Regions from separate parts of the Homo sapiens genome. Here all the other regions are linked to region 3. Evidence: promoter capture Hi-C in 16 types of primary human blood cells and fetal thymus (Javierre and others, 2016). All regions are on one chromosome and are shown on one strand. Each heading gives the region's core, a stretch centred on a gene start or on the middle of the fragment in contact. The rest is flanking DNA. Distances are from core to core; before and after follow the strand shown.

What was found. Contacts are between HindIII fragments. The CHiCAGO score rates a contact against its expected background, and 5 or more counts as called.
Region 1: the fragment with the promoter of AKR1B15 here is called in contact with the fragment with the promoter of STMP1 in region 3 in 2 of 17 cell types (total B cells and total CD4 T cells); the score reaches 9.6 in total B cells.
Region 2: a contact is called between a fragment that was not itself captured here and the fragment with the promoter of STMP1 in region 3, in 1 of 17 cell types (endothelial precursors). The highest score is 7.4, in endothelial precursors.
Region 4: a fragment that was not itself captured here is called in contact with the fragment with the promoter of STMP1 in region 3 in 5 of 17 cell types (naive CD8 T cells, non-activated CD4 T cells, naive CD4 T cells and 2 more); the score reaches 8.5 in naive CD8 T cells.
Region 5: a fragment that was not itself captured here is called in contact with the fragment with the promoter of STMP1 in region 3 in 1 of 17 cell types (M1 macrophages); the score reaches 7.7 in M1 macrophages.
Region 6: a contact is called between the fragment with the promoter of LRGUK here and the fragment with the promoter of STMP1 in region 3, in 5 of 17 cell types (naive CD4 T cells, non-activated CD4 T cells, naive CD8 T cells and 2 more). The highest score is 7.1, in naive CD4 T cells.
Region 7: a fragment that was not itself captured here is called in contact with the fragment with the promoter of STMP1 in region 3 in 4 of 17 cell types (naive CD8 T cells, total CD4 T cells, total B cells and 1 more); the score reaches 6.8 in naive CD8 T cells.

The regions. Positions count from the first base shown.
Region 1 is chr7:134,547,021-134,550,665 of GRCh38, forward strand. AKR1B15 (aldo-keto reductase family 1 member B15) reads left to right here and starts at 2,090. Exons shown (of 12, transcript NM_001080538.3): 1 at 2,090-2,229. LOC105375520 (a long non-coding RNA gene) reads right to left here. Exons shown (of 3, transcript XR_928005.3): 3 at 337-3,645. RefSeq lists an enhancer at 2,101-2,160. The HindIII fragment of the contact is 2,317 bases long and covers 1,200-3,516 here.
Region 2 is chr7:137,577,252-137,580,784 of GRCh38, forward strand. DGKI (diacylglycerol kinase iota) reads right to left here. Exons shown (of 33, transcript NM_001321708.2): 16 at 1,019-1,074; 17 at 1-33. Among named protein-coding and RNA genes, the nearest start is that of PTN, 240 kb to the left of the region's middle. The HindIII fragment of the contact is 174 bases long and covers 1,893-2,066 here.
Region 3 is chr7:135,660,527-135,663,937 of GRCh38, forward strand. STMP1 (short transmembrane mitochondrial protein 1) reads left to right here and starts at 1,988. Exons shown (of 3, transcript NM_001130929.2): 1 at 1,988-2,068. The coding sequence starts at 2,054. It also overlaps the pseudogene RPL15P11. RefSeq lists a silencer at 1,863-2,082 and enhancers at 2,722-3,246, 3,247-3,411. The HindIII fragment of the contact is 1,162 bases long and covers 1,213-2,374 here.
Region 4 is chr7:134,308,586-134,312,188 of GRCh38, forward strand. It overlaps SLC35B4 (solute carrier family 35 member B4), which reads right to left. Exons shown (of 10, transcript NM_032826.5): 2 at 781-894. Among named protein-coding and RNA genes, the nearest start is that of SLC35B4, 6.5 kb to the right of the region's middle. The HindIII fragment of the contact is 820 bases long and covers 1,083-1,902 here.
Region 5 is chr7:137,596,876-137,600,256 of GRCh38, forward strand. DGKI (diacylglycerol kinase iota) reads right to left here. Exons shown (of 33, transcript NM_001321708.2): 11 at 2,948-3,030; 12 at 972-1,032. Among named protein-coding and RNA genes, the nearest start is that of DGKI, 250 kb to the right of the region's middle. The HindIII fragment of the contact is 8,119 bases long and covers 1-3,381 here.
Region 6 is chr7:134,126,021-134,128,589 of GRCh38, forward strand. LRGUK (leucine rich repeats and guanylate kinase domain containing) reads left to right here and starts at 1,320. Exons shown (of 20, transcript NM_144648.3): 1 at 1,320-1,644. The coding sequence starts at 1,348. RefSeq lists enhancers at 1,173-1,222, 1,333-1,602. The HindIII fragment of the contact is 1,507 bases long and covers 230-1,736 here.
Region 7 is chr7:134,452,578-134,455,983 of GRCh38, forward strand. All of the region lies in intron 1 of AKR1B1 (aldo-keto reductase family 1 member B), which reads right to left. Among named protein-coding and RNA genes, the nearest start is that of AKR1B1, 4.8 kb to the right of the region's middle. The HindIII fragment of the contact is 1,484 bases long and covers 1,034-2,517 here.

The DNA.
Region 1 (3,645 bases), core at 840-3,339, 1.1 Mb before region 3:
AGTGAGTCTTCTCTATGGCCTCATGCTGCCATCTGTCAACTAGAGTCAGGAACAGACAGAGTAGACAAAGAGGAAGGGGGAGGGTAGAAATCCAAACAGGTTGGGTTGGAGCCTTTCCCCAAAGCCTCAGTAAGCCTCCAGGAAGGGGGAGGGTAGAAATCTCACAGGAGGGGTTGGGCCTCCTCCCCATAATCCCTAAGATGGGGAACGTTTCAAGTAAGACAGGAAAACTAAAGAGTCTAGAGAGTGATGAATTTCCTTCTGATAGCCCCTTGGGGCTTATGCTAAAGTATTGAAAAAATAATAAGAGAACCAAGTATAAACAAAAACAGCAGATGATAGAATATTGTTGTTTTATTTAAGTTCGAGAACCCATCCTTAAGCCCTCACTTTTCTGGCCAAAATTTAAGTCTAATGAAGAGCGAATTTGTCAGCTGTTAATCAAATATGTTAACAGTAAGAGCCCTGTGTCCCAGGAAAAATCGATTACGCCCTCTGCTGGCGGCAGGGACCAGTTCTCCTTTACCCTTTAGACTCTGGAGGGAGAAAATCAGAAACCAACCTTTCTAAAAAGGAAAGAGTTCCCATGCCTAGACAACCCATACCTACCAAGACATGGGATCCTCTAAATCACCTTCCTTCCTTCAGCGCCCCCAATCCTGCCCCTTTGGTTCCCCTCTCAGGTCCCTCCGGCTGTGGTTTCAGGTTACTCCCCAGCTGTTTCAGGCCACGCCCCAGCCTGTGCTGTCCCTTCAGCTGAGGTTTCAAGTTACTCCCCAGCCGCTTCAGGCCACAACCCACCAAGTTAAAACTATATTAAATCAAAACGCAAGGAGGGAGATTACCAACTCAAAAATTTTAAAATATGAGGCTATCTTTCTGGGAAAAAGGTGATTTAATATTAAGTACTAATAATTCACTTTATTCAGCAGGCTCTTTAACGGGGGATCCAAACGTAAAACGAGAGAGCACGCGTGTTTAAATCGAATTAATTACCATACGAAAGTTCAACCAGACTTAGGAAAAACTCCCTTCAAGACAGGGTGGCACTTATTCATAGATGGAACCTCCCAGGTGATTAAAAGAAAGAGACATAATAGGTATTCAGTGATTAATGGAAAGACTGTTAAAAAAGTAAAATCAGGAAGGGGGTCTAATAATTGGTCTGTCCAAGGGTGTGAACTGTTTGCACTCAGCCAAGCTTTAGGACATTTACAAAACCAAGAAAATCTATCTATACTGACTCTAAGTATCCCTCTGGGGAGGCACACACATTTGGGAAAATTTGGATGGAGAGGGCTCTTATCAATAGTAGAGGCCAAGATTTAGTTCATAGAGAACTGATGCTCGTGTCCTCAACAATCTCCAATTGCCAGAAGAGATAGCTATTGTACATGTCCCAGGGCACCAAAACGACTCGCCTTTCACAAGTCCAGGAAATAATCTTGCAGATCAAATTGTGATACCCTATCTTGTTTTATCCTGATTGACTCTTTCTTAGCTGAGAGAGTCAATAGCTTGGGAGACTCAATTGAGAGTCAATATCGAGAGAGTCAATAGCTGAGAGAGTCTTAGCTTGGTTTCTTCGCTTGCAGCCCCTTGTCCCCCTCCTTAAGGACATAACTGGTGCAAGCTGACTCCAAGCACATCCAAGAATGCGCTTATTGATAAGATACTGAGGCAAGCTGTACCAGCAGCTCCTGGGAGCACACTTGGTTGGTGGTATCCAAAGCCCCTGCTTTTATCACTTTGGGATACTTTAAGCCCCTGCACCTGGAACTGTTTATTTTCCTGTAACTGTTTCTGTAACCATTTATCTTTTAATTTTTTCCTGTTCTGCTTCTGTAAAAAATTGCTTCAGCTAGACTCCCCCTCCCCTCTTTAGGCCAAGGTATAAAAAGAACTCTAGCCTCTTCTTCCGGACCGAGAGAATTTCAAGCTCTAGCTCTTTCTCAGTCGCCAGCAATAAAGGACTCCTGAATTAGTCTCAGAGTGTGGCATTCTCTCTATGACTTGCTCGGTTACGACATTTGGAAGCCCCAGAGAGATTCGCCACCGGGTGAAGACCTGACTCATTCCGGGCTTCCCCAGACAGACAGCTGGCTTACAGGGCCACCTGAAGACGTTCCAGGGCTCCACAGGCCACTGTCTTCTGGAGGGGAACGGATCGACTGCCGGTGCGCCCAGCCAAATTCAACTCCTGAGTCCTCAGTCTCTAGTCCCGGGAAGGTAAGTCAGATCTGACTCTGTCTCTCTGGGAGGGAAACGGCCCTGACGAAGGTCCTCCCTCAGACTCTGTCCATGCTCCAGGACACTGGAGGACAGAGTCCTGGTTTCTGTCAGGATTCTCTGTTAAGTCTAGTCTCTCTCTCTCTCTATCTCTTCTCCCTCTCTCATTCAGGTCTCCGGGAGATCTCTGTTTTAGAATGGGTATAAAAATTGTAATAAACTCTGAGTGAGTGAGTGAGTGAGTGAATGTGGAGTTCAAGGGCTTGCGCTTGAATTTCCAGTTTGTAGCTCCAGGGTGAAAGCTAGGGAATTCGAGAAGGCCCTCACCTGTGGTTCCGTGGTGACCTCATAAGGCTTAGGGCGGCATCAGGCATAGCTCGATCCAAGCCAGGGGTTTATACCAGCCTGCCAATGCCAAGAGGAGCCTAAGTCCCCGAAAGGGGAGCAGCCAGGAGGGCATCTGACTGATCCCATCACGGGACCCCCTCCCCTTGTCTGTCTATAAAAATTGCCATGCTTGTTTATATACCCCAGTGCCTATTGTCCTGTTTAGTGTCTGTCTAAATTTCATATGTCGGATCGTCGATACTGCCCAAAATGACTGGGCAAGGACTTCTTCAAGGTCCTTAGTACAGATTTTCTATCCCAGGAGGTCAAATTCCTCATTAGTCGGTTGGGCTGGCCATCCCAGTCCTGCCTTTCCTGTCAGAAACAAATTAGGTGTTGTTATGGGGAAGGGTGTGGAAGACATTCACCCGTTTAGGATTTCTGGCACCATAAAGATTGCTGGCGTTTGGATTGCCATACCCCACGCCCCAACGACTGGTCCACCTTCTCCTTAGACCAGTGGTGGATCCAAAATAGCCACCCTGCTGACCTCCTTACTCACCTTTTCTGTCATCCCATAACTTTTCCCATGCCCTTAAATAAGGCACTGTGCAGAGAAACCTACACCCATACTGCTCTACTCTGTCTGGACTCTTATTTTACCTCTTTTGGCTACTCTCCAACCTTTAGGGAAATCCAAGTGGCCCCTTTCCTCCTCATCCCCATCCCTTACCCTGCACATCTCATTTTCCTGTGTTGCAGCAAGTCCAGCGTCTCTAAGACTTGGCTGTGTTCTCCCTCCTTAAACCCGTGAAGGAAAGGACCGAGTTTGAACATTTTGCTTTCGAGTCGTGGAGACACCAAAGTTATTTGGGATATAAGTCAAGAAGGGGGGGTCACCTAAGTCCCACTGGCTGAGGATCCCTTGGACCCACCTCTTATCCTCTCCATAGATCTCGAAGCTTGAGGAGACAGACCTTATGTGGCAAGAAATATTGGCTATAGTTGTTTTCCTACTTCTTCTAGCTATAATACTTCTGTTCTTCTGATACCATAGCCTCCCAGGCCGTGAATATCTTTGTCCATGCT
Region 2 (3,533 bases), core at 730-3,229, 1.9 Mb after region 3:
AGAACTTCTCTGTAGGAAGTCAGAAAAAGCTGCCTATACCACAGGGAAATAAAGAAGAAGAAATTCGTAATTACATGGTGATACCAAATCCTTGCTTCCATATCCTAGATTCCAAGGATTCCAAAGTATGCAAAAATTCTAAACATGTTCTCTTTCTGCAGAATCCAAAGTAAAGCAGTGCAGTAGTTGTCAAGTTGAAATTTTTCTCTTTGTTTCCAAACTATAATTTACAGTTTCACTATAAATTTAAGAACACAGAATGAGAGTGAAAAATAGACAATTCTGAGGGTCATTGGAAGGTTTATTTTGACAACCTTTTCTGAACACTTGCCTTGTCCATTAAGTGCTGATACAGTCTTTCCACTAAGATTTCCTTATTTGCTCTGAGTTTCACAGGGTTTGACTTCCATAAACTACGTATGCAGCTCCCAAACGCCTTTTATTTAAACTCCTCCTATCGATTGGCATAAATTTAAACTGTACTGATATTTTGGATGCCTTTTTTTCATTCTCTATTTACTACTATGAACGTGCCTGAGAAACAAAAGAAGGAAAAAGAAGGCACTCCCTTTAACCTCACGTATGCGTCCATGAAAAACACCCCATATTCTGCCAGTTTCTAATCCAAACGTCAATGTGCGCACCCTGGTGAAAACTACGTTCTTACCTAAAATTCTTCAGACATCCTCAGTCTACACAATTCCTCCATTTCTTACACTGGCTTTGATGTTTGTTTCTCACATCCCTTTTTGAATAGCATCTTCTCTTGTTCAACATGAAGCCTCGGGGCTTGCTTAAAAGCTCAGAGATGAGGAACACCAACTCTCTTTCTGACAGCTAACTTAAGAAATACACCTCACTTTCATTCTTAAGCCCAGCCATGAAACAGTAACCATAGATAGACATATATAAATGAGATGTATATGTGATTATTTCTCATGTAGTTTGCAACTTTATGATACACAGTGAATTGGCAATAAGTAATATGTAGTAATTATGAAATAAAATGTATACCTACCCCTGCATAGAACATTTTATTTCGAAAACGACTGTTGAATTTCTCTGGATTTGCTTCTGTGAAAGAGGAAAAGTAGTTTTGTTATGGAGACCTCACTAAAGGTAGCGACTTAGATTAGCACTCCTACTTCCTCCCCAGCTCCCTCCTATCCTACAGATCCAATAGATCCCATGGTTTGGTTATCATCTTTCCCCCAGTTCCAGGCCAGTTAGTACAGTAGCCCAGTGCTACAGGGACAGTAATCCAGGACTATAAATGTGTAGTTCCAAACCGGCATCACTGACATTAGCTGAGAGCTTGTTAGAATTGCAAATGATTAGGCCCTAGCCAGATCTACTGAATTAGAATGACTTGAGTGTGGAGTCTATACATCTGTGGAGGGGAGCTCTCCAGGTGATTCTCAAGCACATTAAAGATGGAGGCACTCTAGATGCTTTGTAAAAATTGGAGGGTTTCCAGGGATATCGGGCTGAGATAACAGGAAAAGGTGGAAGAAGGTGGAGAAGCGATTATTTACTTTGACTTTCATAGGGCATGACTTCCGTAAGCTATGTATGCAGCTTCCAAATGTAATTAAACATGTTTTTGAGTTTGATTTGTGTTTGGAATAAAGTAGATATAAAATTGGGAATTAATGCCAGTTTAATTATTCCTTCTAAAAGAAATACAATATATGTAGTTATGCTGAGAAGTGTCCATTTGATGGGCTATATTTACATCTGTGCTAAAAATTCTTTCCATAGTTAAATTTTTAAAAATTCTCCTTTAATGAGATTTATATTAATTGCCTATTTTTATGTAGATGTATTGGCATAATTCTCAACTTAAAAGTATTACATTTTCTTGACTAATACCTCATAGATTCTACTATCCAAGCTTATTTTTTTCACAATGGCTTTCATGAGCCTTTGTGTTACCCTTTAGGTATTTTATGGCAAGTGATCCATGAAGCCGCAGACAGTGCCTGTGTTGGAAAACAGTTTAAAGTCTCACTATGAGTTTTCTTGGTTTGAGAACAGCCACTCACTATCTACTGACAAAATAAGTAAGCTTGCCACAATTAAAAATCTGGTCTTGCTTATCCTGTTTTTTCTTCTATAGCTTAGCTTAAGATTTCTTGACTAACTAGTTAAAAATAGGGGGAAAATACAAATGAACAGAAACAGTAAAAAAAAAAAAAAAGAAAGAAAAAAAGGCTATTTGCTTAATTATATATTTCATAGACAAATAATTTTTTAATTTACTATTTAAAAAAAGCAGAATAACAGCTACTGAAAAGTCCATACCTCTGGTCTAAGTGTATCAGCAAAATCTGGTTCCAATATCTTATAGTTATTTAATTTTTTTACCACCTCTATCCCACCTGCATGAATATTTACCTATTATTTCCAATTAACATAAATTCTCCCTTAACAGCCCTTCAGTGGCTGATTTTCCTCAAAGGCTCTGATTTACATGCAGGGGAAATGTTTACAATTCCATTTCATACTGCATCAAAACACAATAAGCCTTAGCAATAAACTATACAAAGATTAATGCTTGACATCTTTAACTAATTGTTTTATAATCACATACATATAAATGTACATGTTCATACACTCAACAATTTGCATATTCCACTCTAAAATAGTCCTACAGCTTAAAATAAAAGAGAAAAATCACTTTCCCCAAAAGAATTTTCTTCTAAGCCTGGTCTTCCCATGTAAGGGTCTCTCCCTGCTCCCTTCTCACTCTGATGCATAGAAACTTCATCATAGTTCAAGGAAGTGAATCATTAGAAAAACTTCCGGATAAGTTAGACTAAATATGAGACTCACTTGAGCTCATTGAGCTCATTGAATGAGCTCATTGTTGGCCACTTATTCATTTAGACCTCTTTTCATGCCTATTTTTGGAAATCCATGTATTTGTGATAATTGTGTTACTTTACAAGTATTATTAAGAAGTTTGGGGTATTTTATTAAGAAGCCCAGGATCTGGATCCTGCTAAAGAATATGAGATAAAAAATGGGGTAAGAAATGAAGAATAAAATCCCCCATGTACTTCCCAAATTAACTCTCCTTAAATATAAGAAGGGTAACAGGTCATAAATGTTGGCCCCAAGGTAAGTCCCTCTGAATACCTAATATCCAAGAACTGTCTAAGGCAGGGAGGCGGAAAGTGGTAGTGTTTCTGACTCAGGATATTTGAGGTTCTGTTATCAATCATGCCTTCTAGCTGTGATTTTTCTGGCCAATCAGAGAGGAATACCAAACTATGGCTTTCTCTTCAAACAGCATCATTCCTGCTTGGCACAGAATTTGACCTTTACAGAGCCTGTCCTCTCAAAACCTTGGGAAACCAGGAAGGTCAAAGTCTGCTAACATTGCTGGATCCAGTAAGAGACTTTAAAGATCTGTTCCTTACTTGTATTTTATACTCTAGTGGTTTTTAATCCTGTAGCATCACTCTTGACTTCTAGTGCATAAGTGCATGATCAGAATTTTCATGTTATTACCAGAATCTGAAAATCTG
Region 3 (3,411 bases), core at 738-3,237:
GCTGACATCTGCAGGCCAAAGGAGCTGTGGCCTTGGAAAGTGCCATAAGTTCCACCACACTATTGATGGTTCTTGCTGGGCAGCTTGGAGAAGGCGTGATACTCTCCAGCTCCACCGTTACCACTAATATAAGTAAAGTTTGGGCCAGGCGTGGTGGCTCACGCCTGTAATCCCAGCACTTTGGGAGGCCGAGGCGGGCGGATCACAAGGTCAGGAGATCGAGACCATCCTGGCTAACACGTTGAAACCTCGTCTCTACTAAAAATACAGAAAATTAGCCGGGCGTGGTGGCGGGCGCCTGTAGTCCCAGCTACTCGGGAGGCTGAGGCAGGAGAATGGCGTGAACCCGGGAGGCGGAGCTTGCAGTGAGCCGAGACTGCGCCACTGCACTCCAGCCTGGGTGACAGAGCGAGACTCCGTCTCAAAAAAAAAAAAAAGTTTGTAAAATTCGTACCTAATAATTTAGGACAGTCATGTCTGCTTACAGGTGTTATTTGTCTGTTAAAACTAGTCTGCAGATTGTTTCATGAATGCTTTGTCAAATTATGAAAATTAAAGTGCAATAATTTTTGAAGACAATAAGGGATGGTGTATCTTGTTTCTAATAAGATGAACTTTTTTTGTCTTTGCTTTATCTTATTAGGGAGTTATATATCTTATTAGGGAGTTAGTGTTTAAAACATACTGTGTGGTATAATAGGCTTAAAATAAATTCTTTAAAAGAGAAAGAGAGAAAAAAACACACACATACACAGACCGGAAGACTGACAGAACAGACTCTTTGTGGCGATGATACAAATTGTCAACAGGACCTATGGCCATCCCAGGCAAGAAACCCAGCTAGGCCAGTGAAACTGAGAGCCAACCTGATGAGGCCTGCCAAATGCAACTTCTCTCACTTGTTTTTAGTCACCTGCTTTTAGTGGATTAAAAAACCCACATAGCTAAAGTCACAGAGCTAAACAATATATATCTAAGCTCCCACTATCTTCCTTATGGATAACATCTCTGACATCTGGGTTGCTTGATAAAGGTTTCTTGTTTTTCAGGAAGTTGGGGTCAGTTCTTGTACAGTTTAAACCACCAACCTCTCAACTGGGCCTGCATGAAAGCCCGATGGGTGTCCTTCTGACATTAGAGGGCCAAAACCTCCACACTCAGATCATGCTAAGGATGTCATTTTGTGACCATGTATCCTATAAAGAGCCATGAAGCTTGACTACCTCGCGCAGATAACCCATTGCCAAACTTTTCCTTACCTTCAACCGCCTTTCCCCACACCTCAGACCACCCTGCTCCTCTATCCCATAAATATCCCTAAAACCCATCTTTGGGGAGGCAGATTTGAGATCTGTTCTCCCGTCTCCTCGGCTGGCTGCCTGGTGAATAAACCTTTTCTCTGCTACAAAACTCATCATCTCAGTGACTGGCGTGCGGCACACGGCAGCATGGGCCCCATACGGTACCCAGCCTCTACCTTGATTACACAACACCTGATTACACAACGCTGATTACACAGCACACCTGCGGAGCTTTGAGAGCTACAAGCCTCCTTTCCTCCCCGCAAAGTCCAGCTGGGCCCAAGTAGAGGATGCTGCAAAAGCCCCCACGATTCAGCTGCGAACCTAGGGATGGGACCCGCTGCTCATGCCGTCCTTCTAGGTTAGAGAGCCCTAAACTGGGCTGTGTATCAGAATAGTCCGCGTGCTGAGAATAATATAGATTCCTGGGCCTCGGCCCAGGTTTACAGAGGCGGGATGCTCAAGGATGCCCAGCCAGGCTCGGGACTTGCTCTTCGCAAGTCCTGTCGCGCGCTCGCTGCCCCGCCGGTTCAGGCGGTGAGGCCAACGCGCTCCGCCAGGGGGAACCTGGGCGCTGCGACACTGCAAGTCGTTTCCGGGCGCGGGCTGAGTGGGAGGAGCGGGGCGGGGCGTGGCGTGACCCGGAAGTCGACGAGGGGTTCCGCCCCCCCCGCGCATGGGGAGGTAGGCTCGGACCGGCCCGCGGAGCTGCTGCAGTCCTTCGCGCCCTCCTCGCCCTCCCCACCGACATCATGCTCCAGTTCCTGGTGAGTGGAGCTGCCGAAGAGCGGGGCCCGCTGCCTGGGGCGTGCCTCGGACCCCATTTCCCCCTTGAGGATTGCCGACCCCGCCGACCCGGCCTGGGCGTGGGTCCAGCGGTCCCTTCGTCCCCCGCGCCTGGTCGTCGCCTCGCAGGGCGGCCGTTTTCTTCCTGCCTCCCCAGAAAATCCCTTTGCCAATATTTTTCTGCAGCCATCCAAGTCCCTAAAACTTTGAGGTGTCAGAGAGTGTGCGTTTCCAGAGCTTCTTATTGTGTGCCGCGCCCCGCGCTCATTGTGCAATCTTTGTATTAAAGCTTGTGTGGTCCTTGATGACTTTTCGTAGTCCGCCCCCCTTTCTTTCTGCGCTCCTGTTCCATTACATGGTCGCCGGCCGGTCCCTGCTGTGGAGCCCTGCTAGTTGGCTTTTCTGAGGAGGTAGGAAGGCCAGGAATAAACCGTAAATTAGCCACCTCACGAAGTCCGAGAGGCTAAGTCCTCATCAGACCTTTCAGAGTTGGAGGAATGAGTCAGACACTGGTATACAAGTAATTTTTCCCAAAATGTGTAAGCATGAGTAAGCAGACTATTTCTCTTGGCTCCTTATTTGAGTTAAAAACGAGTTTTCTGGCAAAACTCGGTATATTTCAAAAATTGCTTGGTGAAGGTTCCAGGAGTTGCTCATCAAATTTTCAAGTGAAAGTTTTTCTGCCAAGCTATTGTGCATTCAAAACTTGATGCTTTCAACCTCTATTTTTTTTTATTTTTTATTTTTTTTGAGACGGAGTCTCGCTGTGTCGTCAGGCTGGAGTGCAGTGGCGCAATCTGGGCTCACTGGAACCTCCGCCTCCCGGGTTCAACCGATTCTCCCTCCTCGGCCTCCGGAGTAGCTGGGATTACAGGCGCGCACCAGGATGCTCAGCTAATTTTTGTATTTTTAGTAGAGACGGGTTTCACCAAGTTGGCCAGGCTGGTCTCGAACTCCTGACCTCAAGTGATCAACCCACCTCAGCCTACGAAAGTGCTGGGATTACAGGCGTGAGCCACTGCTCCCGGCTCAAATGCTGTATCTTTTTTTGTTGTTTGTTTTAACGGAGTCCCGCTCTGTCGCCAGGCTGGAGTGCAGTAGTGCGATCTCGGCTCACTGCAGCCTCCGCTTCCTGGGTTTAAGCGATTCTCCTGCCTCAGCCTCCCGAGTAGCTGGTGCGCGCCAGCAGGCCCAGTTAATTTTTGTATTTTTAGTAGAGACGGGGTTTCACCCCGTTGGCCGGGATGGTCTCGATCTCCTGACCTCGGGATCTGCCTGCCTCAGCCTCCCAAAGTGCTGGGATTACAGGCGTGAGCCTCCGCGC
Region 4 (3,603 bases), core at 243-2,742, 1.4 Mb before region 3:
CAAAAGAAAACCAACAAAGATGGGCCTTTGCCTTCATACTTGGATATATTCACACCAGAATGTCGCTCTAAACGGGAGTAAGTGACATCATCCTACTAAATACTCACAACTGGATGGATTACACTTTTATCTCAAGTCACTCTCAGCAAGAAGGCTGAGTTTTCAATACACTGTTTAACATAAGAACTGCCCTGTTTTCTATTTGGCCCCATGAGTACAATTATGCACATTTGGACTAATGTACTACAGGTCTGGCATCAACAAATTTTGACTTTGCTTGCCATTCATTTTCTTTTAATTGAGGTGAAATTCACATAACATAAAATTAACCATTTTAAAGTGAACAATTCCGTGGCATTTAGTACATTCACAAAGTTATGTAACTACTACCTCTATTTATTTCCAAAAGCCATTCGTTTTTAAAAAGAAACAAGGATACTCCCCTTTTAGAATGTTTGATAACTTCACCAACACAGAAGACAGCACAAAATTTGTGGTCACACTAGGCCTTCTGACTAATCCTATACTAAATAAGAACACACACACATACACACTCTTGTCTCCATCATGGTTATTTTAAATCTTGTGGCAGAAATTTTATTTTCGAAGTAGGTACCCCGGATTTTCACAACATATTAAATTCAGAAAATGACTTATTATTCTACTGGTATCTTTGAAATAAATCTTATAAAAGAATGTCTCATCCTCCTTTTATACAGGTACCACCTCTTTACTTTCTTAAAAAATCCAAAAGCTAAAAGAGACTCTAATGTACCATACCTTATTGGGATAGCTGGTGGCTTCCTTCCCAAATCAGCTTCAAAGAGGAAGCCTTCCACAGCAATAAATAAAAATTGTGCAAATGTCACAATGTTCCCACATCCTGGATGCTTCCTGTATAGTGAATAATAAAAGAGGGGGTGAAGGCACAAAAACTGAGATACAGAACACTAAAATGCATTCTAATTAGAGGGCCAGAATAACAGCGTGGATGGATTTCAATTACCCACTGTCCTTTATCTCAATGTTCATAGCCTTTGGATCACATATACTTAGCATTGATCTCACAGAGAAGAATGTCAAGCTTTCTTATTTAACTCTTCCTTGCGTGTATCAGGCCATGAGTGAGAATTACTGTGACGACACACTTGTTCCCAGAACTACGATACAGCTTTCCTAGTAAACTGCAGGAAATTGGTCATATGTTCTTATTGGGATCTTTGCTTCACCAGAAAGGTCTTTAATCAGGATCCCAGTCAGCTTAGGTAGCAAAGCCCAGGGACAGAAATATGCTCAGGTCTCCTGGAATGTTTATATATCCCTCCTGACCAGGAATCACCAAGACTGCTGTCAAACGAAAAATGGACCCAGTGTTGATGATAGGAACATTACTTTAAATGGTGCCCAGCAACGGGGCAAAATTGGTTCTTGGGATGGGGGAGATATCTTACTCTTTTTATAACAATAAAGTACAAATATACATACAGTACCTGAACCAGTACACACTATATCTATGGCAGGGGAGGGATTAAGAAAACAACGTCTAAAAAGTATTCTGGAGGAGGCATAATGAACAAAAGACTGAAAAACACTGCCGTAGTCTACTATTCTCTACAGCTCTTAACCCAGTGTTTTGAATATATTAGGCACTCAAAAAATGTTTGTGGAATTCAATAGAGTCTCTTTAGTGATCTGTGAAACAGTTGGGGAAGATTCCCCACATTCAACAGTGATTGTTAGGAACAAATTTACAAAGTTAAAAACTTCCTCCTGACATTCATCTTGAGGCACTCTGAAAACTAGTCATTTAAAATGTTCAGGTTTTCTTGAGCTTGTCTTCCATTCAGCTCTGCTCAATCGCTGGAAGAAGAACAAAGTGAGCAGTTATCTTTGCTCTCCTGAAGCTTCCAGATTTCCTATAATACCAATATTCACCTGCCTTCGTATTCTGTGTTTTCATCTTTTTTTTTTTTTTTTGAGACAGAGTCTCGCTCTGTCGCCCAGGCTGGAGTGCAGTGGTGCCATCTTGGCTCACTGCAAGCTCCGCCTCCCGGGTTCGTGCCATTCTCCTGCCTCAGCCTCCCGAGGAGCTGGGACTACAGGTGCCCGCCACCAGGCCCGGCTAATTTTTTTGTTTTTTTTCAGTAGAGACAGCGTTTCACTGTGTTAGCCAGGATGGTCTCCACCTCCTGACCTTGCGATCCACCTGCCTCGGCCTCCCAAAGTGCTGGGATTACAGGCGTGAGCCACCACACCCGGCCTCTGTATTTTCATCTTGACCAAAGGCATTTACCTGAAGCTGGTGAGAGGTATGTAATTGTATTATTACATATTAATATACTGCTACTTACCAGAAATGACTCCATTCTCCATTGGTATTAGTATTATACAGCAATGCCAAGATATACAAGTCCTTAAATATACCCATTAGGCACAAAAATAAGACAATACAGGCATGAGCCATTCTTCTACAGAACTAGGCTTACTAACTGAAACAGAAATGTTGCTACTCTTTAAGCTCTGCTGCCTATGAAGGTTTCCTTGAAAACTGCTTTCTATTCAATTCAACAAGTTCTCTTTTAGCACTTCTTATGTTCAAAGGACAAGGCTAAATGCAGGAATCCATAAATAATCATGTAAGACATTTACCTCATTCAAGGACCTAATTAAAACCATTAGCCTAAATATGAGTGACAGAAGGAACTTTAACTCTAGATGGTTCCTAGCACGGTGCTTTGGAACTCGGGCCAGCCTACTCTGCTTTTTAAAAACCTGTTTCCCAAATGGTCGGCACGGTGGCTGGCTCACACCTATAATCCCAGCACTTTGGGAGGCTAAGGCAGGTGGATCACCTGAGGTCAGGAGTTCGAGACCAGCTTGGCCAACATGGTGAAACCCATCTCTACTAAAAATACAAAAATTAGCCAGATGTGGTGGTGCATGCCTGTAATCCCAGCTACTCGGGAGGCTGAGGCAGGAGAATCACTTGAACCTGGGAGGTGGAGGTTGCAGTGAGCCGAGATCATGCCACTGCCCTCCAGCCTGGGTGACAAAGCAAGACTCTTGTCTCAAAAACAAACAACAACAACAAAAAAACCTATTTACCCAAAGAGGCTCACTCTCCCACTTCTAATTTGATTAGTCTGGGGTAGGACCCTGGAATCTGTACTTTTAAAAGCTTTCCACTTGATTGTCACATGCAGCCAGGTTGGAGAAATACCAGTCAAGGTGCAGGGAAAGGGCTGAGAGTGTATGTGAGTGCATGTGTCGCTGTATATGTGAATGCACAGGTAGTTCTCAGGTGCTGACACAAGGTTGAGAACCACTATGCTCCACTGTGCTTAAAAGTACACACCGACATGCGATATGTTGCTCTGTCACTTGCTATGTGACAGAAGTGAATTAATTTATCTAAGTCTAGTGTTTTTATCTTTAAAATGGAAACCATATGAGTGCCTATCTCTGATTTATTGTAGAGTAAATGAGCCATCCCTGAAAAGCACTTAACACAGCGCCTGCCACAGAGTGAAAAAGGCAAATATGATGACCAGTATTTAGGATCTTGCAGGCTGAAAGGTCTTCAGCCTTTAAAAGACATTCCAG
Region 5 (3,381 bases), core at 486-2,985, 1.9 Mb after region 3:
CTAATTAGGGAAATTAGAGAAAAGCTAAAGATAGTTCATAATACATTCGTAGATCCTATGAGATCAGATTCCAAATCCGGAAGAAAAAGAACCAGACAACACAATCTAAATGTCATGATTCTCAATTCTTTACTTTGTTAAATATATCACCATAAGTAGAGGCCAAATGGAGAAAACCGATGAGGCATAATAAACAGGAGAAAATATATCCATGATATTAACCTTCAGCCCAATTCCACCTTTTTTTCATAAATGAATACAAACATACAGTCAGAAGGAATAAGTTCTAATGTTCAATGGCAGAGTAGGGTGAGTACAGTTAGCAACAATGTATTATATATTTCAAAGTAGCTAGAAAAGAGAACTTGAAATGTTCCCAACACATAGAAATGATAGCCTAGGTAATGGATACCTCCAAACCTTGACTTGATCATTATACATTCTATGCATATAACAAAATATCACACATACCCCATATACAGGTAAAGTATGTCAACAAAAAAGAACATAAATAGGACCAATTAATAATCTTTAAGGCAAAACAACACTCAATATTCTGAGTTTTATTCCCACTAGTAAAAAAAAAAACATAATAATTCAATTGTGTCCACGTATTTCTCCCTACTGTGGCCAAATTATTAAGAATAAATGGAAACAGTTCAGCTTATATTTTAAAAGGAATTTATCTATCTATAATCTTCATTTTAAGGATTTGACCACATCCCTACTTCATGGCACACAAAAGAATACAGCATAGTTGAAGGAGTGAAGCACACATTAGAAGGATCAAGTATGTATTCATAAGGACAATAACAAAGTCCCTTGTTACTCTTAGGGGCTATGATTCACATGAGAGATATACATGTGTTAGGGGATTAGAAAGACTGAGCAACGAATAAAAAGAAGTGCCACAAGAAAACAATAAGAAAGATAGAATTGGCAGAGAACTGGATTCTCTCTCAGGGACCTACCGTTCCATCCCCACCACAGGCCAGAATTCGCAGATTTGGTACTTTCCTATACAATTCAAGCCTGTAGAGGAAATAGAAGAAAAAGTAAACAAAAGAACATTTCACTGGCTAGAGCAGAGAGAAAGCAGAGGACAACATGGGTAGGTAGGGGTGGTGTCCGCTGGAGAAAATGTGTAATCATGAGGATGACAATGCTATCATAGGTCCCAAGTAACCACAGGAAGAATGACTCCCACCAGTGGAACAGGTGTAGGCATCAGACATTATTTTTGAATGAATAATTCAACGTTGGAATTTAAGGGATTTTAGGATGTCCTAGTTTTATTTCCCATAACTTCTATTATATGTCAACATTATTTTCCTCGTTAGTTTTGACTTCCTTCTTTTTCTTTTCCCATCATTTCCTCTTCCCCTTTCCCCAAGAAAATCATCATTAATTGATAATCAGTAGTCCTTATATATCCCCTCTTTATATTTATTAGTTTTCCCTGGATGTATTTACTTCTTCTAACTTATACTTTCTACTCTTAATCCTAAGAAATCTTTTTCAGCGAGACGGGGAGGCTTCCGCACTCTCAGATGTGAACACAGGTATCACATCTACAATTCCATCTAGTCTTTCTCTCAGCTCAGTTACACACCACTTACACCTCCAACCCAAAGTGGGAAGATTGACTGATTTTTATTTATTTCAAACTTCTCTGCTTGAAATAAGATAATTTTGTCTTTCCTCTTGGATCTCAGGAAAATGCATTGACACTGCCCCTGCTAAATCTTTTGCTTAGGTGAAGTTGCTAGAGGCTGTAATCTAGAAAATATCACCTATTTAAATCACAAAATATGGTTTTTTTCTGAAAATATTTCCTGTCCTACCATGTTCTTTACGGTGACCTCTGAAGTGTCTCTCTAGGGTCTAACTAAAGTGATAAAATCTTAAGAAAAATAAGCTCCTAAAATGGCACATCCCAGGATAGCAGATTTGCCTTAGCATAATCAAGTACAGAAAATAAAAATAAATAAATATATATATATGTATTATGGGACAGAGAGAGGAAGAATCTTGCAGCAAACTCAACTGGTGAAGAAATTCATACGTTAAGAAAATAACAAATTAATTTTCATATTTCCTAATCTGCATGCTTAAAATAAGTAATTTATCCATTTTATACAAGAATACTATTTCTCTAGAAATCACCTTTTCCTCTGATATTGTTACTTATTAAAAAATAAGTGGTACCCTTGTGTTCTAACATTTATCAGATAACATCTGAACTATCCTAGTACATGAATTTAAAACGGAGAACCAGAGAACAGCAGAAGTGTCCTTGGTCTTTTCCACTGTGTGCCTCTCCACCAAAGGAGAGAAGCAGGATATGGGTCACCTACAATCTAGACTTTATTTTAAACACTTCTAACAAAAGCAGAGAATGAGATTTCTGAGAAGCTCAGAAACGGGATTGAGCAGGAATTAATATGTCTTCCCCACATTTGTGCAGAGTCCTCAGGTATAATCAATTGATTCTCTCTCTCTCACACACAAGCGCGCGCACACACACACACACACTCTCTCTTTTCAGTTCAAATATTCATAAACAAACATGGCTCCACCCTCCACAGACATACATTTACATTCCATTAATGTGCATCTCCAAAGTTGTACATGAAGAAATAGAAAAACAATGAGTCCTTTCTCAATTCACAGATTTGCAGAGAATAACCTACAGTTACACATACGTAAGTAACAAACACACTAGACGTATCCTGAGTTAATAGCTGAGAAGATATGTTTCGAAGGGAACTAAGCCAATAAAGAGTAGGAGAGAACTTTGGATGAAGTTTTAAAGGAAGGAGAGTACAGGTGAGAAGGTAGATGACAGATGGTCAGGATATACCTCACAAGGTAATCAGATAATGAAGCAGAAAATTCTCACTTGCCTAAAATACATATGGACCATGGAGAATATTTCCAGACTTACGCATCTTTTGGCCCTTCCTGAGAAAGATCAAAGACTTGCCGTGGATTCAGGTACCACATGAACATCTGCAGGACTTTGGTTCCCTGTAAAAAATAAATACACAAAAAGGCAATAATAGGAAGAAATTTCCCAAGAATAACTGCTCATTTAAAAAATAAATACTTTTATTTAAAATAATACACAGGGCACGGTGGCACACGCCTGTAATCCCAGCACCTTGGAAGGCTGACGCAGGTGGATCACTTGAGCCCAGGAGTTTGAGACCAGCCTAGGCAACATGACAAAATCCCGTCTCTACAAAAAATACAAACATCAGCCAGGTGTGGTGACACATGTCTTTAGTCCCAGCTGAGGAGGCGGAGTGTGCAGTGAGCCGAGATCACACCATTGCACTCCAGCCTGAGTGACAGGAGTGAAACCCTGTCTCAAAAAAT
Region 6 (2,569 bases), core at 70-2,569, 1.5 Mb before region 3:
AAAACGATCGAGATTTGCATTTTTACACTTTCTGCCTGATTCTTCCCTATGTCACTTAGCCGAAGCCAGGCCCTACGAGGGTAAGGGTGGGGAAAATTCCCTTGGAGGAATCTCTACTTATTGGAAAAAGAAATAAGCAAAAAGCAAGATGAGCCTGGCAGAAAGAGATATTTTGCTTGTGGCCTTTACATTTATGACTAGCAAGATAATGAAGGAAGGTAATTCTGAAAGCTTTATGTCAGTTTTAACGGTCCCTCAAGCACTGAGAAAGATAATCGTCAATGGATGGTGTCCATAAGGATTTTTTCTCCTTCTCCCCTGACAGCCATTGACAGGATCATTTTGTATTTGCAACTGCTGTCATTGAAGCGTGCAGAAAAGGCCCTGTAAGGCCAGAAGGATGAGGGCTACTTCCCTGCAAGGATCTCTATTGTCATCACTATGGCAATAATAGTTACTATAATTTTCATTCTGCTTTTCTATAGAGTGTCGACGTTGTGGAGCTTAAGGCTATGGGATTTGGGTCACATAAAATCACACTAGCATAAAATCGTGCTTTGTTATCTTGAAAGAGTATTTTTTTTAACTGCAAAGAGAGCCTGTGCAACAAGATTAAAATAATTGCCAATGCAGGTCACTTGACTAATATAATTATTTATGGGATGCTAATAGCTTTTCAGACGCTTTCAGATACAGTGTCAATTTGACAGCAGTTTTTTCTCTCTCTGTTTGGATTGTAAGACCACTGCCAGTTTTTCTCCCCAAGGACAAGGCTTATCATTGGGGGGTGGGGGTGGGGAATGTAAATTAATTGGAAATCAGCTCTCAGGCGTCGTCTGGTAGTTTCTCTTTATTATCTGCAATTAAATCATAAGGACAGGAACCATGCCTTCTATTTCACTTATATGCACCCTCATCTCCTAGCGTCGCGCTTTGCATAAATTTCAGTGGTACTAGCTTTCCTACAGACTGCTTTAGAGACATTAGACACTTCTAAAGTACGACTCTGCGGAAAGAGCCCTTTGGGAATGAAGCGGCAACGGTGGCGCACCTGCGATCCTATCGTGGGATGACAAAGCTCTAAGAGGGGTCTCAGGGTAGGGAGGAAACAGCTGGAGACAAAGAAAGGGGGTGTAGCGAAAAGAGGTGAAAACAGGAAAGATAAGCGAACAGAACAGACCAAAGAGAGAAAAATAACAGAAGAGACTGAGAAAAAGAAAAGTCAAGTGGAGCGCCCACTGCCCCGCCTGCAGAAGGCGAGTACGCGCGGAGGAGACTACAGGCCCCAGAATCCTCCGCGGTTCCCCTTGCCTGGGGTCAGTCTCCTAGGCAACCCCGCTAAACAAGATGGCGACCTCCGAGAGGGCTCTCCTGAGGACCAGAGCTGCCTCTCTCCTGAGAGGCTTGGGCAGATCCCGAACTGGAGCCCGATCGTTACAGTTTCGCGCAGAAAAAGAGCGTCAGCCTTGCTGGTCTTTTCCCATGGGGCAGAAGACGAAAGGCAGCTCTAACATAGCCTCCTCCTACCTGCTCCAGCAGCTCATGCACCGCTATCAGGAGCTGGACTCGGACGGAGATGAGGACCAGGGCGAGGGCGAGGCGGGATCCGAGGAGTCCTCAGAGTCCGAAATGCTGAATTTGGAGGTGTGTCTTCCCCCCCACCCCGTACTCCCTGGCTCCCTCGTCCAGCCCTGTTACTTCAGCGGCAGCTCCCCGATGCACCCCCACCAGCCCGAAGCTTCCCACACCTTCTCAGGCTCTCTCGCCTCCAGGAACGCCTCTTCCCCCTCTTTTCTTCCCCTGTCTTTTACCCCGTTTTCTCACCCCCTGCCTGAAATAGCTCTAAATAGTTCCTTTCTTTTTTCATTAACACATTTGATTTCTTATGAGTCGAGTTAACACAGCGTCACTTTGTAAGAGTGTCTAGATAATTGTCTGGGAATTATGGCTTTAGCTTTTTCAAAATTATACTTTGACAGTATTGTGAATAGGCAGAGTTCATCTCTGACATTGCCAGCACCTGTTGCCCATGGCTATGACATACTTCCACACTCTTCCTCAGTTCTAGTCCCGTCAGCCTCCCTCCAGGAAAAAAAAAAAAAAAAAAATCCGCTTTTGAAAGTGCTTCTTCAAAGACTAAGTGACTTAAAAGTTGAATACATTACTTCTGTCGGGGGCATATGCCTTATACAAGCAACATGCACACACACCAGAAAAGAGCCTTATAATGTTCGAACAGCCAGCTCATTGTGGGAATATTTTAGGATGTGGGGAATGTTCCCATCATCCCACCCATATTGACTGGGATGGCGGCTTCGCGTTTCACATGACTGCCATTCCCTCCTTTCTACAATATCTCTTCTGACCACCACACAATTCCTCTTCTTTCTTATGCTTATTATGGTCCTTTTCCTTTCTTAGTCCATTGTTGTCTTCTTGTCCTTTTCCACTTCTCATCACATCACTTCTTTTCTCTTGGCTTCTAATAAATTGCTTTCTTTCAAAAGCGTAATTTAATTTGCTTCCTTTCTATTTTGTTTATGTTTTTGAGATGGAGTCTGGCTTTGTC
Region 7 (3,406 bases), core at 526-3,025, 1.2 Mb before region 3:
TGGCATCGCGCTTCACTGGCACCCAGGTAGGCTGCATGGACACGTATCCCCCAACTTTCACTATCCTGCTATGATCACAGAGCTGAGCAATAAACATGTGCAGCGGGCTGTTGAATGAACAGAGCACATTCCTTTGGAGAGCTGGGGTAGAAACAAATGAAAAGAAAAACCCCCCAGGGCCATAGCAGCTGCAGACATCTGTGTTTTGACATCAGCTATTTTCAACAGGCTTTGGGGAAGAAAGGGGCCCAGTTGAACAAGCCCGTTACCAGAGCCTGTTAGCATGGAGCTCACTCTCCACCTCAGAGGGAGCAGCGAGGCAGGGTGGGGATGCTCATCGAAGGTGTGGGTTAAGAGGGGACGACCCTCAGAGGACCTGGCGACCTCTTATTTGACTGGAGGACCTCAGAAGCTGCTCTTGCAGCCTTCCCCACTCTGCACGGTTGAAGGAACAGAGAATCTCAATTTCCAGAAAGAATGCCTTACCACAGGCCCTGAGTGGTGTCCGGGCACAACCACCACTGATGACAGCAGGGAGAGCAGAGGACATCCCTACCCCAGAAAGAACAACTGGGGCCCAGGCAGGAAACTGCCCAGGACACACTGAACTTTCTCCAGGCTTGATGGCGCCTTGATTGATTTTTCTCTGAGGAGCTGCTGAGGGCACACTCCGCAGGCTCAGCCTAGCCACGCACTGCCTGCCATGCAACTGGTGCGGGGACAGGAACATGACTCAATCCAGGCCATAAGACTCAATCTTTGCACTTGAATTGGAACCCCTGAGTCCAGCCCCGGTTCTGCTGGGGTCACTGAGCTGGGAGAATGTCAGCCTGGAGCTGCTGCAGGAAAGTGGAGGGAGGCCAAATCCTGGTGACAACATTTACAACCCTGAATCTCAAACACCTAATGTCAGCGGCTGTTGTTTGGGGAAGTCAATCAATCCCCACCCCAAACACACTTTTTTTTTTCCTGCTTAAGATTAAAGTGGTTTTTCAGTTCTTTGGAACCAAAAGAGCACAGACTAGGATAATCAAGCTTGCGTTGGCACGACATGAAAAAAAAGTTGTGAGAGGTTTTTCTAGAAAAGTAAAAGACAGCAATGACTGCAAGAGGTCACGAAGAAGCTGCTGATCATTCCTTGGATATGTGCCATTCGCTGGAGACATGTGTGCTGGGAGGCTGATCAAAGGTGCTGGAGGGAAAAAGTCACCTCTGCAATGAAAATGTACGAGGATCCACAACCACATTCTATGTTAATGATCTCAATGTACAGCCCTTCCCTGAGAGAAACTAATTTGCCTTATGAAAAATGAAGCAGCCAACTTAAGCTATGGTGAGAAACCATTCACTAAACTTGGGAATGCCAACACAGGATGACAACATCTCCCCATTCCATGTCAACAAAGAGAAAATGCAAACAGAAGGAGGGGTCCAGATTGACTTCTAAAAAGAAGGTAAACTATGAAAACATGCTGGGTGGCATCCAGGCACAGCCATTACTGATGAGAGCTGTAGAAATGCAGTATATGAAACACTCCAATTACAGCTCAATCATACAAATCCTACATGTTTCTAACCCGATCCTGCCACTAATCTGTGTGCCCTTGATGGGCAAAACCATGCATGCCCATTCCTCCCAGAACTTCTGGCTCTGCAAAGCTCTACGTTGGGCAGTGACTTGAAATGCTCTGGGCTGATGGCACCAAGTGATGGCAGTGAGAAGCCTCTGCCCTTGAGTCCTCCACCACCTCCTTCAAGACAGCGGTCCTAGTTCCTCCTTTGATAACACCGGCTGGCTAATACCAACTCTGAGACACTGATAACTAAAATCAGTGTCTCCCTCCTACACAGATACAACACTCCTTTTAAAACCTAGTCTTCTTCCCTTTTGCTTACAGGTCTTGCTAGTTACTTCAAGATACCCCTCCCTCTCTTCCCTCTGCAAGTCAAAAAGCAAGCCACAGTGCTAAACAGGAAGACGGTCACAGGACAGTGTTTATGGTAAAACCAAAGTATCTCAGAGATTGGATATTTTGCAATATTAACCACGGGGATCTCTGGGAACAGGGAACTCTTCATTTTTGAAATGTTCTCTAGTTAGCAGGTGTTACTACTGAAATCAAAGGATAAGGGGAGGGGGCAAAGGAAACTTCACTTTGGGTAAAGAAACGGTCCTGAGTAGGAAGCATGAGAATGCTGTGCTGATAATCCTGGAGCAAGGAACAGGAAACGATCACTCAGAATCAGGTTTGGCAGCAGAAATTAACTTCCTCCTGTTCTGTTTTAATCAATTTGTCCCAAATTCTAAGACACTGCTGTTTCCAACTAGTTGAGATGTGCATGGACCAGGACTGACCCTGTAGGGGCAGGGCTTATTTAAATGTCTTTGGTCTTGAAGAGGAAGAGATGGGGGCTTTAGAGACACCAGGGAAGTGAACAGTAAATCTGGCTCCTGTGTTACCTCCATGCCCACAGCGCCTCAACCCTCACCCCATCCAAGGATCTTGGGCCATCACAAGCTTACCCCACTTGGGGAAGGTGGAGCAAGTCTTTCCTGGCACATTTTCTTTTACCTCATGCATTCTTAAAGTGGGTGCTATTGTCCCCAAAGAGACAAAAATTAGTTCTCTGGGGCAAAAAAACCCCCCTCAGCTTATAGAACAGCTTGTGACCCTCTAGAAGGCTACTGGCCATAAGCAGAAGTACAATATTATCTCTGATATTACAATTTTATTTTGGGGCAAATTAGGGGAAAAAAAAGTCTCACAAGGCTCCTAGGTGGGAGGGAGGTAGTGATCATGGCAAAAGATGGAGAAACATAGTTGTACCTTCAGCCCTAGGAGTATTCTGTGAGCATACATAGGAGACTTACAATGACTTTTACCTCCAACAATTTTTCAACTAGATTAAAAACACTATCAGTAACAAGACACTGGTGGGCACCAGACATCATCTCTGTTTTAAAAGCTTCCTGGCTTTACAATGCTGTGATGGGTTTTTGTTGTTGTTGTTGTTTCTGAGACCGAGTTTTTTTTTGCTCTTGTCGCCTAGGCTGGAGTGCAGTGGCACAATCTCAGATCATGGCAACCTCTACCTTCTGGATTCAAGTGATTCTCCTGCCTCAGCCTCCCAAGCAGCTGGGATTACAGGCACCCACCACCATGCCGGGCTAATTTTTGTATTTTTAGTAGAGAGGGGGTTTCACCATGTTGGCCAGCTGGTCTCGAACTCCTGACCTCAGGTGATCCACCCGCCTTGGCCTTCCAAAGTGCTGGGATTACAGGTGTAATTGTTTACTATCCAATGTAGAAGGCAAGACTGCCAGAAAGAAACCCTGTCCAAGCCACATGGGTCTGGGGCAGAGATGGTCTCCCCATCTGCCTGAAACCCTCACCTGAGAAGAGAA